3 separate regions of the Homo sapiens genome follow, and regions 1 and 2 are each linked to region 3. The links are contacts of gene promoters, found by promoter capture Hi-C in blood cells and fetal thymus (Javierre and others, 2016). All regions are on one chromosome and are shown on one strand. Each heading gives the region's core, a stretch centred on a gene start or on the middle of the fragment in contact. The rest is flanking DNA. Distances are from core to core; before and after follow the strand shown.

Region 1 (3,624 bases), core at 554-3,053, 160 kb before region 3:
CAGGTAGAACCTGGGGGCCAGAGTATTCTTGGGAGCCCCAGAAACCCCTCAAAAAGTAAGATTATGTGCGGGGGAGGTATGGGCAGGGGAGGGACCCAGGGTCTGTGCTGTCCCATGGCGGGGGAGCAGGGAAGGTGCAGGCTTGGACTTCAGCTGGGGGCAGAGAGAGGACGCCTGAGGTTGGGGCTTCAATGGAGGCTGGTGCCTGCCACAGCAGATTCCTGGATCCCTGGGGGGTGCCGCCAGTGCAGGGGTCAGGGAAACTGAGAAGATCCATTGGGAGCTGGCCCTGGCTGGCCCAGGGAGGCCGGAGTGATGGGTGGTGGCGTGGAGAGGGGTAGGCCAGGGATTTGGGTGGGGGGTGGACCTTGTCCCCAGCTCGGGCCAGGGTGGCAGGAAGGGTGGTGACCTGGGAAGCTCCAGCCCTCGCCCTAGCCCTGAGGAGGCTGAATCAGCCCCAGTGGGAGGGCACTGCCCCCTCCCCACCCTGAACAAGATCACCTGTGGTCACCACCAGAAACTGGGCCCAGCCTCATCCAGACATGTTCAGTGGGGGGGCTCCCTCTCCTACCCCTCACTCCCAGCACACTGCTCCCCTCCAGGCTGGAGGCCATCCACACAGGCCTCAGGGTTTGGAAACGGGGCAGGGCAGGCCAGGCGGCCCCTGCTTCCAACTCCAGCCCAGGCTCCTATCTTTGGGCCCGCAGGCCCTGTGGTCCGGGTCCTGGGTCCCAGGCCCTGCTGCTACACAGATGCCTCTGGGTGGAGTGCAAGTGGCTTTTCTCTCCTGGGGATGACAGCTCCCCTTCTGTTCCTCCATTCACTCTGGCTTCCTCACAGGCCTCTGTCGGCCATCACCCGCCCCCAAACTGAACCCGTACCTTTTCGGTGCCCCAACTCTGGGTCCCAGAAGTAGTGCCCGTTGGGGCTCTGGGCATCCTTGGCGAAGTGGACTTTGTAATGTTTGTGCATGGCAGCCGGGCAGCTGGGTGCTGGGGGCCTGCTCCTGAGGCAGGAGGGAGCACACAGGCTTGGCGTAGCCTCTGGGGCACGAACAGCAGAGAGCTGAGGTCAGGGTCCCTGCCCTGCCCGACAGCTTGGACAGGGGAAAGGCCAAGTCCCAGATGCTGGGTTCCTAGGTCACTTGGGAGAAGGGGGTAGAGGTGGCCTTCAGGGTACAGTGAGGGGCAGGATAAGGAGGGATGGCCAGAGGAGGGAACGGAGAACCGCTGGGGTTGGCTAGGGGTTAATTTGAGGCTGGGTGTTGGGAAGCTCCTGGGAGTTTCCAAGAGGCTAGGACACTGGGGAGTGCTGAGCAGACATGGGCTGGGGAAATAGGGGGTCCGGTGTGGTGGCTGAGTGACCAAGGGGTCATTAAGGTGTGGGCGCTGTGGGAGGCTGGCACGCTTTGGAAGGACATGGAGCTAGTGAGGTGAGCTGGAGAGCAGATGAGAAGCAGGGTGAGTGAAAATCAGAGCTGGGTACCTGTGGGCATTGAATGATACGGTGGAGGGGGAATTGTGAGGGAGCAATGAAATCGCGGTGGTCCAATTTGGGGAGAGGCTCAGCAAACTCGGGCAAGATGGGTGTACCGCGTTTCCAATGTGAAGAGCCGAAAGCAGGACAGGGAAGGATGCTGTGTGGGGGACAGGGATAGGGAAAGGCTGAGGGGCAGAGGAAACTGGGGTGCTGAGAGTTGGTAGCCTGCCCACCACTCCCCACCCCCAGTCCCAGTCCCACTCGTACCTGACGGTGGCCTCACGGCCCCAGCTGCCTGCCCCACGAGCAGCTGCCACACCAGCCCGGACTGTCAGCGCAGGCCCATCCAGATGGAGGCCTCAGCCCAGTGCCCGCCTGACCGGTTTGCCTGCCTGTCCCCGCCCCTTCCCCAGCGCCTGCCTGTCCCAGTGCTCTCTGCTCTCGAGGACTGGGACTCCGACTGGACTCAGTCTTGTGTCCCCATCCCTGGTAAGGAACGGAGATGCATCCCGCAGCACTGCCTCAATCTCCTTAAGGCAGCCACAGGCCCAGGCACTTCTGCTGGTGTGGGGGGGACAGGGAGCTGGGATGCCAGCTCCTCCGTGGCCCAGGTATGTGACCTTGGGCAGGTGACTTCACTCTCCGAGCCATGGCTTCCTCATTGCTGAGTGGGCACCTGCCTCTCGTGGCTGTCGCGAGGGAGGCACTGGGTGGGAGTCCCCTCAGCTCAGGGCCTGGCGCACCTGACCCGGGGCTGTGCTGACCCATTTACCTGGCGCTGTTCTAAATGGATGTCCATAGGACAAGGGCAACAGCACACACATCAAGGCTTGCTACACCATAGCCCCGTCTTCCTCTCCACCACCCAGGGGGCCAGGTGTGATGCCCGCTTCACAGATGAGGACACTGAGGCCCAGAGAAGTGAAGTCCTCGGCCCCAGGGCACACAGAGGCAGGGCGGGGATTTGGAAGCAGTCAGTGGTTGCTACTCCCAGGCTCGCCAAGGCTCTGTCTCCTGCCCTCGGGGCCAGCACTCAGTGACTGCCTCCCCACAGATGCCCTCTGAGGGGTGAGGGCCGGGGTAAGGCTGGGCAGGAGATGCCCTGAAGGCCCCTCGGCTCTCTGGGGCCCCGGCTCCCTGTGGCTGCTGGCGTAACGGGGTCAACAGTTGCTTCCCTGACAGACGGGGTGCTCCGATGGGGATGGGGGAGGCAGCCCCAGAACAGTGCCCAGGACAAGATAAAGGGAACCCACCCAGCCCTGAGTTCTGCCCAGGTGACCAAACACTGCTCCCTACGGCCAGAGCCAGGGCCCTTCCTGCGACCTGGGACCCCGTCTCCTCCCCCACCCTTCAAGCCGGTTGCTCTGGGAAGGTTCCTCCCTGGCCCACCAGGGAGGCGGGGCTGGCATCTGAGCGTGGGCATCTGCAGTGGGCCTCCGTGCCAACCCCCCACACCCCCGGCCCGATCATGAAGCGTGGCCCAATGTAAATGAGCCGTCTCCGCAGGACGAGATTGCCCCGGGCTGGGAGCACAGTGGCCAGGAGGCTGCTGGACACTAGGGGGAGCAGGCGTTTGGGGAGTGGGCCAGGCGGGCAGCACTGCAGAGGCAGACACAGGACACAGCTACACTCAGCCAGGTGGAATAGGAAGGGGTGACCCAGGCAGGGCCTGACGGGGTGACTGGACCCCACTCTACAGGGGAGGTTCTTTAGCAAGGGGCCCCTTTCTCATCCCATTTGGGGTTCACCCCCAGCCTTGGTGGGCAGCTCTGAGCCTGGGGCACTTACCCATGTCAGGCAGCGGGCGGCGAAGCCCAGGAGTCCCCAGATGCTACAGATGCGAGCGGGGTGGGAGGGGGCAGCATAAGGGCCACTCTGCCCAGGGACGGGCAGCAGGAGTGCGTAGGGGCCGCGTGTGTCCATGGGGGTGTCTGGCCTCCCCCTACCCCATGCATCCCCAGCCCTGGCAGCCCCAGCCCGACCTGGCCTACACTCCGGGCACTCCCAGCCCTGCTCCCCAGGAAGACGCTCCGTTCTGTGCACATCGCCGGGCAGAGGGCAGCCCCAGACTTGTTGACTTGGCAGAGGTGCCAGTAAGGCCGCCCATGCCGGAGGCCAGCATCCCTCTGCCAGGAGCACGGGGAG
Region 2 (3,687 bases), core at 86-2,585, 230 kb before region 3:
GATTCGTCTCTCGCCTTTGGAATTTCTACCTTCTCCTAGGTTTTGTTTTTTAAAATCAGGCCTATGATACCGCTCATGGGCTCATATTTATTTTAGCATTGTAATTTAAGTTGTATTTTATGCAACTCTACCCCGATACAGAGAGCTGTTGATGTAACTGCAGCGAGCAAATGGAGGACTAGAGACTAGCGAAGGGGCCGAGACTTCGTCTCCAGAGTATCCCTGTCAGCATCCATCAACTGCACTCATATATTGAATGCAGCTCCTATCCGCCTTTCTTTTCGACTTCTTCATGCCGTTACCACTCTTCATCAGTTAGTCTAGCCTCAATGTTTTCATTTATTTCCTTTGTTTTTTTTGGGGGGGGGGGAACGGAGTCTTGCTCTGTCGCCCAGGCTGGAGTGCAGTGGCACGATCTCGGCTCACTAAAAGCTCCGCCTCCCGGGTTCACACCATTCTCGTGCCTCAGGCTCCCGAGTAGCTGGGACTACAGGCGCCCGCCACCACGCCCGGCTAATTTTTTGTATTTTTAGTAGAGACGGGGTTTCACCGTGTTAGCCAGGATGGTCTCGATCTCCTAACCTCGTGATCCGCCCGTGTCGGCCTTCCAAAGTGCTGGGATTACAGGCGTGAGCCACCGCGCCCGGCCCATTTCTTTCCTTTCGTTGAGACAGGGTCTGGCTCTGTCTACCAGGTCGGAGTGCAGGGGCGCGATCATAGCTCAGTGCAGCCTCAACCTACCGGGCTCAAGCGATCTTCCCACCTCCCAAGTAGCTGGAACTACAGGCTCCTGTAACCAGACCCTGCTAATTTTTAAATTTTTTGTAAAGACGGGGCCTTGCTATGTTGCCCAGGCTGGTCTCGAACTCCTGGACTCAAGCGATCTTCCCGCCTCAGCCTTCCAAAGTGCTGGGATTATAGGCGTGTGCCGCCGCGCCCCGCCAGGTGTTTTCAGTTCTATGCACTCCATTCCCTGGGCTCTTGACGAATGTGCGGGAGCTGAATATTCGTTATTTGGACTCCGGCAGGAAGGCGTGGGCTCAGCTTCGCGCTTGCGCGCTGCTCTTGGAGACGGCGTCTACTTCGCCCCGCCCCTCATAGTCTGCAGTTCCGGCTCTGCAGATTCGCTGCTCACGTTTCTTTTTTCCGTGGCCCTTCCTGCCCTTTGTTTCTCTCTTCATGTCACCCGCGGGACAACTCTACGTGCAAGTCGCTGAAATCGATTTTCTGCTTCTTATAGTAAGCGGCGGGCTCGCCAGCCTCGAGCGAAAGTGTGACTGCGAACGGGCAGGCGCGCGCGGGGCTCGGCGGAGGCGCGCTTGGGCTCCCGGCGGCGACGACTACGACCACTAGGAGAGCGGACGGAGGCGGCGCCTGAAGCGGCGGCGGAGCCCATGCCCCGGGACGGCGGGCGGACCCGGAGAGACAAATCCGGGGCCCGGGGCATGTCCCCGGGGCCCCCGTGAGGAGGCGGCGGCGGCTATGGAGATCGCGCCGCAGGAGGCGCCGCCCGTGCCGGGCGCGGACGGCGACATTGAAGAGGCCCCAGCTGAGGCCGGGTCTCCCAGCCCCGCGTCGCCCCCCGCCGATGGGCGCCTCAAGGCTGCAGCCAAGCGCGTCACATTCCCGTCCGACGAGGATATCGTGTCTGGAGCAGTGGAGCCCAAAGACCCCTGGAGACATGGTAGCTACCGCGGGTGAAGCGGGGGCGGGCTCGAGAGGGACCCGGGAGTCGGGAGGGATCGGTGCAGGGCCCGGCTCGAGGTGGCGTTCAATAGATTGCACCTAATGGTGAATAAGGGGACAGTCGTCAGTTTAGAACCGTAGTCTGTTAGAAAGGGGGTGGCTATGGAGTTGGGAAGGTGAAAAGTATCTGGTTTCTGCCGCACCCCACCCACCCGAGACAAAGATGGTGATCGTTTTAGGGTTTAAAACGATGAGCAATTAAAGAAAGTTTGGTGTTTTGTCAGATGTAGAGTGTGGCAGCCTTTGCGTTCGTAGTTCCACCAGAGAAGGAGAGAAGGAGCAGTTGAGAGGAGGAGCGGGTCAACACTGGGCCTGAAAGGGCAGTTGAAAGAGTTTGATGGGTCTATGGGGGTAAAAAGAGGTTAAGTTGCTGGTCTGCAAGCCTTGGGGCAAGGAGTGGTCGTGTTGGCCACTTTCTTGGCTGGAAAGAGGGAGACTATAAACTTGGACTGTGGCTATAGAGGACTTGGTAAAAAGGAGTCAAGATAAGGTCCCAGAAGAGGAGCAGAGGTGGTGGTCAATTTGTGGTTGGGTGAGGGAGAAAGAGGCAGTGTGGTTTTTATGTTTTCTTTTTTATTGAGACAAGGTCTCACTACATTGCCCAGGCTGGTCTCGGACTTCTGGGTTCAAGCTGTCCTCCCTCCTTGGCCTCCCAGAGTGTTGGGATTACAGGTGTGAGCCACCGCCGCCTGCTGCAATGTGGTATTAAGAAGAAAAGCCAACGCCTACCGCCGCCTCCTCCTCCAAAAAAAAGAGAAGCAGAAGGAAGGCTGTCAGTCATTCAGGAGCAGAGGATGTTTGGGACATGGCTACGGAAGGGTCCTCTTGTTCCTTCCTGAGAAAGAATTGGGGGATGGCCGGGTGCATTGGCTCAGGCGTGTAATCCCAGCACTTTGGGAGGCCAAGGTGGGTGGATCACCTGAGGTCAGGAGTTTAAAACCAGCCTGGCCAACATGGGGAAACCCCGTCTCTACTAAAAATACAGAAATTGGCCGGGCATAGTGGTGCACACCTGTAATCCCATCTACTCAAGAGGCTGAGGCAGGGAGAATCGTTTGAACCCGGGAGGTGGAGGTTGCAGTGAGCTAAGATCACGACATTGTACTCCAGCCTGGGTGACAAGAGCAAAACTCCGGCTCAAAGAAAAAAAAAAAAAGAATTGGGGGATGTTATCAAGTCAGAAATTGGAGTTGCTGGCCAGTAGCAGGTGAGAGAGATGAAAAAGTTGGCTACTTGAAGTGTTGGGAGAGAGGGCCAGCGCACTGGAGAGGGTCAGGTCAGTGTTGGAGCTGAAAGGAGTGTGTTGGAGCCATAGGGCTGGGAAAGTGGAAAGTCGCTTGGGACATGCAGGGCAGTGTTGAGTCCATTTTGTGCTGGAGAAGTCTGTCAGTTCTCCTGGGGTGGAGCCCATGAAGTGAGGGATCAGACTGGCTGTGGTGGCCGTGGTTCTGTAGAAGCTGATCTGCCGGCCCTGGGCAAGGGGAGAAACTATTGCCAGTCTGTGGACAATGGAGGAATTGGTGGCTTTGATGTGAGGGTGGGAAACATGGTAACTGGAAACTGAACACACAGGGAGTCCATCATGAATGACAGTTTGGCTACTTATTATAATTTTTTAGACGGAGTCTCCCTCTGTCGCCCAGGCCAATTCTCCTGCCTCAGCCTCCTCAGTATCTGGGATTACAGGCACCTGTCATCACACCTGGCTAAAAATGTTTGTATTTTTAGTAGAGTTGGGGGTTTCACCATGTTGGCCAGGCTGGTCTCGAACTCCCGACCTCAGGTGATCTGCCCACTTAAGCCTTCCAAAGTGCTGGGATTACCGGCATGAGCCACCGTGCCCGGCTGGCTAGTTATTCTTAAAGAGGCAGTGGTTAAATTAAGACTTTTGGGCCGGACGCCATGGTTCATGCCTGCAACCCCAGCACTTTGTCAGGCCAA
Region 3 (3,704 bases), core at 737-3,236:
GCTATTATTATTATTATTATTATTATGTTTGAGACAGAGTCTCGCTCTGTCGCCCAGGCTAGAGTGCAGTGGCATAATCTCAGTTCACTGCAACCTCCACCTCCCAGGTTCAAGCAACTATCCTGCTTCAGCCTCCTGAGTAGCTGCAACTACAGGCGTGTGCCACACCTGGCTATTTTTTTTTTTGGTATTTTTAGTAGAGTTGGGGTTTCGCCATGTTGGCCAGGCTGGTCTTGAACTCCTGAACTCAAGTGATCCGCCCACCTCTGCCTCCCAAAGTGCTGAGATTACAGGCATGAGTCACGGCACCTGGCCTGTTGTTGTTATTTTAAAGGTTCGTGCGAGGAGCTGGTGAGAAGGTGGAGGTGAGGGTGCTGCTGGGAGTATGTGAGCAGGTTCTTGGATTATCAATCCAAAGACAAAGGGCTGGGTCGGGGGAGGGCTGGGTAGCTGCCCCCACCTCTGCCTGCTGACAGTTCTCCCACAGGGCTCAGAAGGGAAGAAAAGCTCAGCCTCTGGGTCGTCAGAGGCAGGTTCAAATCCCACCTATGCCATTTCCCTGCTGTGTGACCCCAGGCCAGTCACTAGGCCTCTCTGGACCTCTGTCTCCTGTGAACTGAGCCTGCCCCGTAGGATTGCCAGGATCCTCTGAGCTTGGCCATGAGGTTGGCTGAGCACAGGCCCTGGCATGGAGTTGGAGCCTGGAACCCTGGTGGCTGCTATTATTGTTATTTGTTATTACTACTTTTTTGCAGAGATGGGGTCTCACTATGTTGCCCAGGCTGGTCTGGGACTCCTGGCCTCAAGTGATCCTCCAGCATCGGCCTCCCAAGATGCTGGGATTATGCGTGTGAGCCACTGCGCCAGGTCCTACTGTTATTATTATTTTATTCACTGGACCCAGAAAGGAGAAGGGACCCAGAAAGGAGAAGGGGCCTCCAGCAGCGGTGGGAGACGGGGATGGGAAGCAGGTGGGATTGTGGGAGGGAGATTGGGACCACGGTGAGCTGAAGCCAGGGAAGAGGAACAGGGACCCGCCAAAGACCTTGGGTGCTGCTGTCCAGGGTGGTTATTTTTAGAATCTGGCAACTGCCTGCCATCCCACCCCCAGCTGCTGCCCCGCCCCACCCCCACATTCCGGGGCTCGGCTTGCACCAAGTCAGCAGGCCCAAGACAGGTGGGCCAGGGTGGCTGGGAGGACACGGGTCCAGGCCTCGGGGCTCAAGGACATCCTGGGATGGCAGCCCAGACCCCCTCCCTTCAGAGGATGCCCCCCTAATCCCTGCCAGGGACACCCCAGGAGAGGGCACTGAGGCAGGGTGGTGACCCCCCCCACAAGAGACATAAGCAGAAAGCCCCAGAGCCACACACCCCCACCACCGCAGACTCCCCAGATCACACTGTAAACTAAGTCACACAGTCACACTTCCAAACTCAAGGACATGCCCAGGACACTCATGTGTCCGCTACTAAGTCAGAAACAAGGTCACAGGGACCCACACAGTAGCAAACGCAAAGAAAGCCTGCGACACCTGCTCTTGCAGACTCTGCTAGGCGACAGACACACCTCCCACGGCTTGTGGCGCCAGTGTTGGCGACAAACTGTAATGAACACAGGCCTGGCTCAACAGCCCCTTGCAGGGGGTGACAGTTGGCAGCTGTCAGGACCCCTTTCATCTCGGATCCCTCCCCATAACCCAAGACTTGTGCCGCAGAAATCACAGGTCCCAGTGGGGGGTTCAGGCAGCCTCACAGATGGAGGGGCCTCCCAGACACACAAGGGTCAACCTTCCCACGCACCGACCTGCCTTTGTATAGGAGGATGTTGGTGGAGCAAGGGGTGACACACAGACCCTTTCCCAAGCCAAGCCTCTAGCACCCACAGAAATCCCCTACTCTGGCCCCCACCCAGATTCCCGCCCCGTGCAGTACCTGGCTGGGCTGGGCTGAAGGGGGGCTGTCTGTATCCTGGAGGTGACACTGACCCAAAGGAAGGGCCAGCAGCCGTGGCCTTATATAGGGGGACCTAGGCTGTGCTATTGGCTGGGAGGGGTTGTCCCCAGGGAGGAGTTCTGGAGGGCAGCTGAGCCTCTCACCTCCCTGCTCCCGCACCATACCCACCCTGAACCCAGGCATGCTTTGCGCCCAGCCCCATGGCCTTGTATGGGCTGAGCCGCCCCAGGGGCTGGGCTCACGCCCCCCCACCAAGCTGATACCCTGACCAAGTGCTGAGTTGGGCTGGCGGTGGGGACAGCTGGCCCCCCGCCGGGAACATGGGACGGTGGCTGGGAACGTCCCAAGCACGTAGAAGCCACCGTCCCCTGGCCCCTGAGTCTCCTTCAGCCACCAGCCCTTCCTGTGGCCCTCGGCTCCCCCTGTGCCCCCTGGGCCCTCACCCCTACCCGAGTCCCAGCGGCACCTCGGGGAACCAAGGTGTGGCTCCAGGAGGAGCAGATACCCTGTGAGCTGGAGGAAGCAGAGGCCGGGAGAAGGACCAATTGCAATGGAGGGCAGTCTAACCCCAGAAACCCGCGCTTGGGCGCCCCTTCCTCCTAGGGACTGAGTGGAGGGGAAACTGAGGCTGGCTGAGTTGGAGAGATTCAAACTCAGGGCAAGGGTGGGAGGCGGTGGTCACCCTCCCCCCCACTTAACCCTCGCCCCCTCGGTGCCACTGGGAGATTTCCGCTGTGCGGGGGACAGGGAGGGTCTCGGTCGCCGGGAAAGGAGTTATTTTTAGAGGGCGCTTTGCTGTCTCCTCTGCCGCAAAGGCCGAGACCCGAGGCGCTGGGTATGGGGGGGTTCGGGGGCAGGTGTTGGAGGGGGGTTCGCCACGTGTCCTGGTTAATTATAACCGGGCGTCTCGGGTGTCCTCGGGCCTCGCCTCCTTACAAGGGCAGCCACGGGGCCCTGGGTGGCCGCTCCCACCTCCCGGGGAAGGGGGCTGGGCAGCGACGCCGTTCAGAGCGCGGGCGCCAGACTCGCGCAGATCTGGGCAGAGCAAGCGCTCTCGGCGCCTCGGCTGTGAGCAAGGACTTCCAGGGCTGAGAGGGGGGTTCTGTGGAGGAGAGTACAGTATAGAGGAAGCCGCTTTCTCCTCCTGGGACGCGCCAGGATTGCAGGCTGATCGGGTCTCCTCCTCCAGGGAGCTCCCAGGATTGCGACGAAGAAAAGAATGTCCCTTCCCTCTGAGTTCCTCCCTATCCCAGGGTCTCCTGGGTCTCCTTCACATCTTCTTAGGCAGGTGAGGACTGGCTTAGAGAAAGGGAGCCTCTGTGCCTCTCCCTCAGACTCCTGATCTGAGGGGGGAGGGGAGAGGGGTGCTTTAGAAATATTTACATGGGGCCCAGCCCTTTCCCAGCAAGCTCAGATTGCCGAGGGTCTCCTTCACGGTTACGGAAACTGAGGCCCAGAAAACCAAATGGAACTGGTCTCGAAACAGGGATCTATCAGGCACTTCCTGAGGCTACAACAAAACACAAAACCCCCGCCGTCCTGGAGGTGATAGTGCAAGAGGGTCACAGATGAGGGGACGGCACAGCAGCAGGGGAGGTCGAGGCAGGCCTCTTTGGGAAGATGACATCTGAGCAGAGACCTGAAGGAGAACAGGGAGCCAGCCATGTGCGGCTCTGGGGGGAACAGCAGGTGCAAAGGCGCTGAGGTGAGAATGGCTGGGCACATCTGAGGACAGACAGGAAGGAGGCCAG

What was found. The method cuts DNA at HindIII sites, captures the fragments that hold promoters and counts their contacts. A CHiCAGO score of 5 or more calls a contact.
Region 1: a contact is called between the fragment with the promoter of NKPD1 here and the fragment with the promoter of CKM in region 3, in 2 of 17 cell types (erythroblasts and M1 macrophages). The highest score is 6.2, in erythroblasts.
Region 2: a contact is called between the fragment with the promoter of PPP1R37 here and the fragment with the promoter of CKM in region 3, in 5 of 17 cell types (M1 macrophages, endothelial precursors, megakaryocytes and 2 more). The highest score is 8.4, in M1 macrophages.

The regions. Positions count from the first base shown.
Region 1 is chr19:45,159,179-45,162,802 of GRCh38, forward strand. It overlaps NKPD1 (NTPase KAP family P-loop domain containing 1), which reads right to left and starts at 1,804. Exons shown (of 5, transcript NM_198478.4): 1 at 1,747-1,804; 2 at 882-1,043. The coding sequence starts at 972. RefSeq lists an enhancer at 1,454-2,086. The HindIII fragment of the contact is 37,147 bases long and covers 1-3,624 here.
Region 2 is chr19:45,091,844-45,095,530 of GRCh38, forward strand. PPP1R37 (protein phosphatase 1 regulatory subunit 37) reads left to right here and starts at 1,336. Exons shown (of 13, transcript NM_019121.2): 1 at 1,336-1,684. The coding sequence starts at 1,483. RefSeq lists an enhancer at 939-988 and a silencer at 1,409-1,618. The HindIII fragment of the contact is 14,988 bases long and covers 1-3,687 here.
Region 3 is chr19:45,320,889-45,324,592 of GRCh38, forward strand. It overlaps CKM (creatine kinase, M-type), which reads right to left and starts at 1,987. Exons shown (of 8, transcript NM_001824.5): 1 at 1,933-1,987. RefSeq lists an enhancer at 2,711-2,953. The HindIII fragment of the contact is 13,711 bases long and covers 1-3,704 here.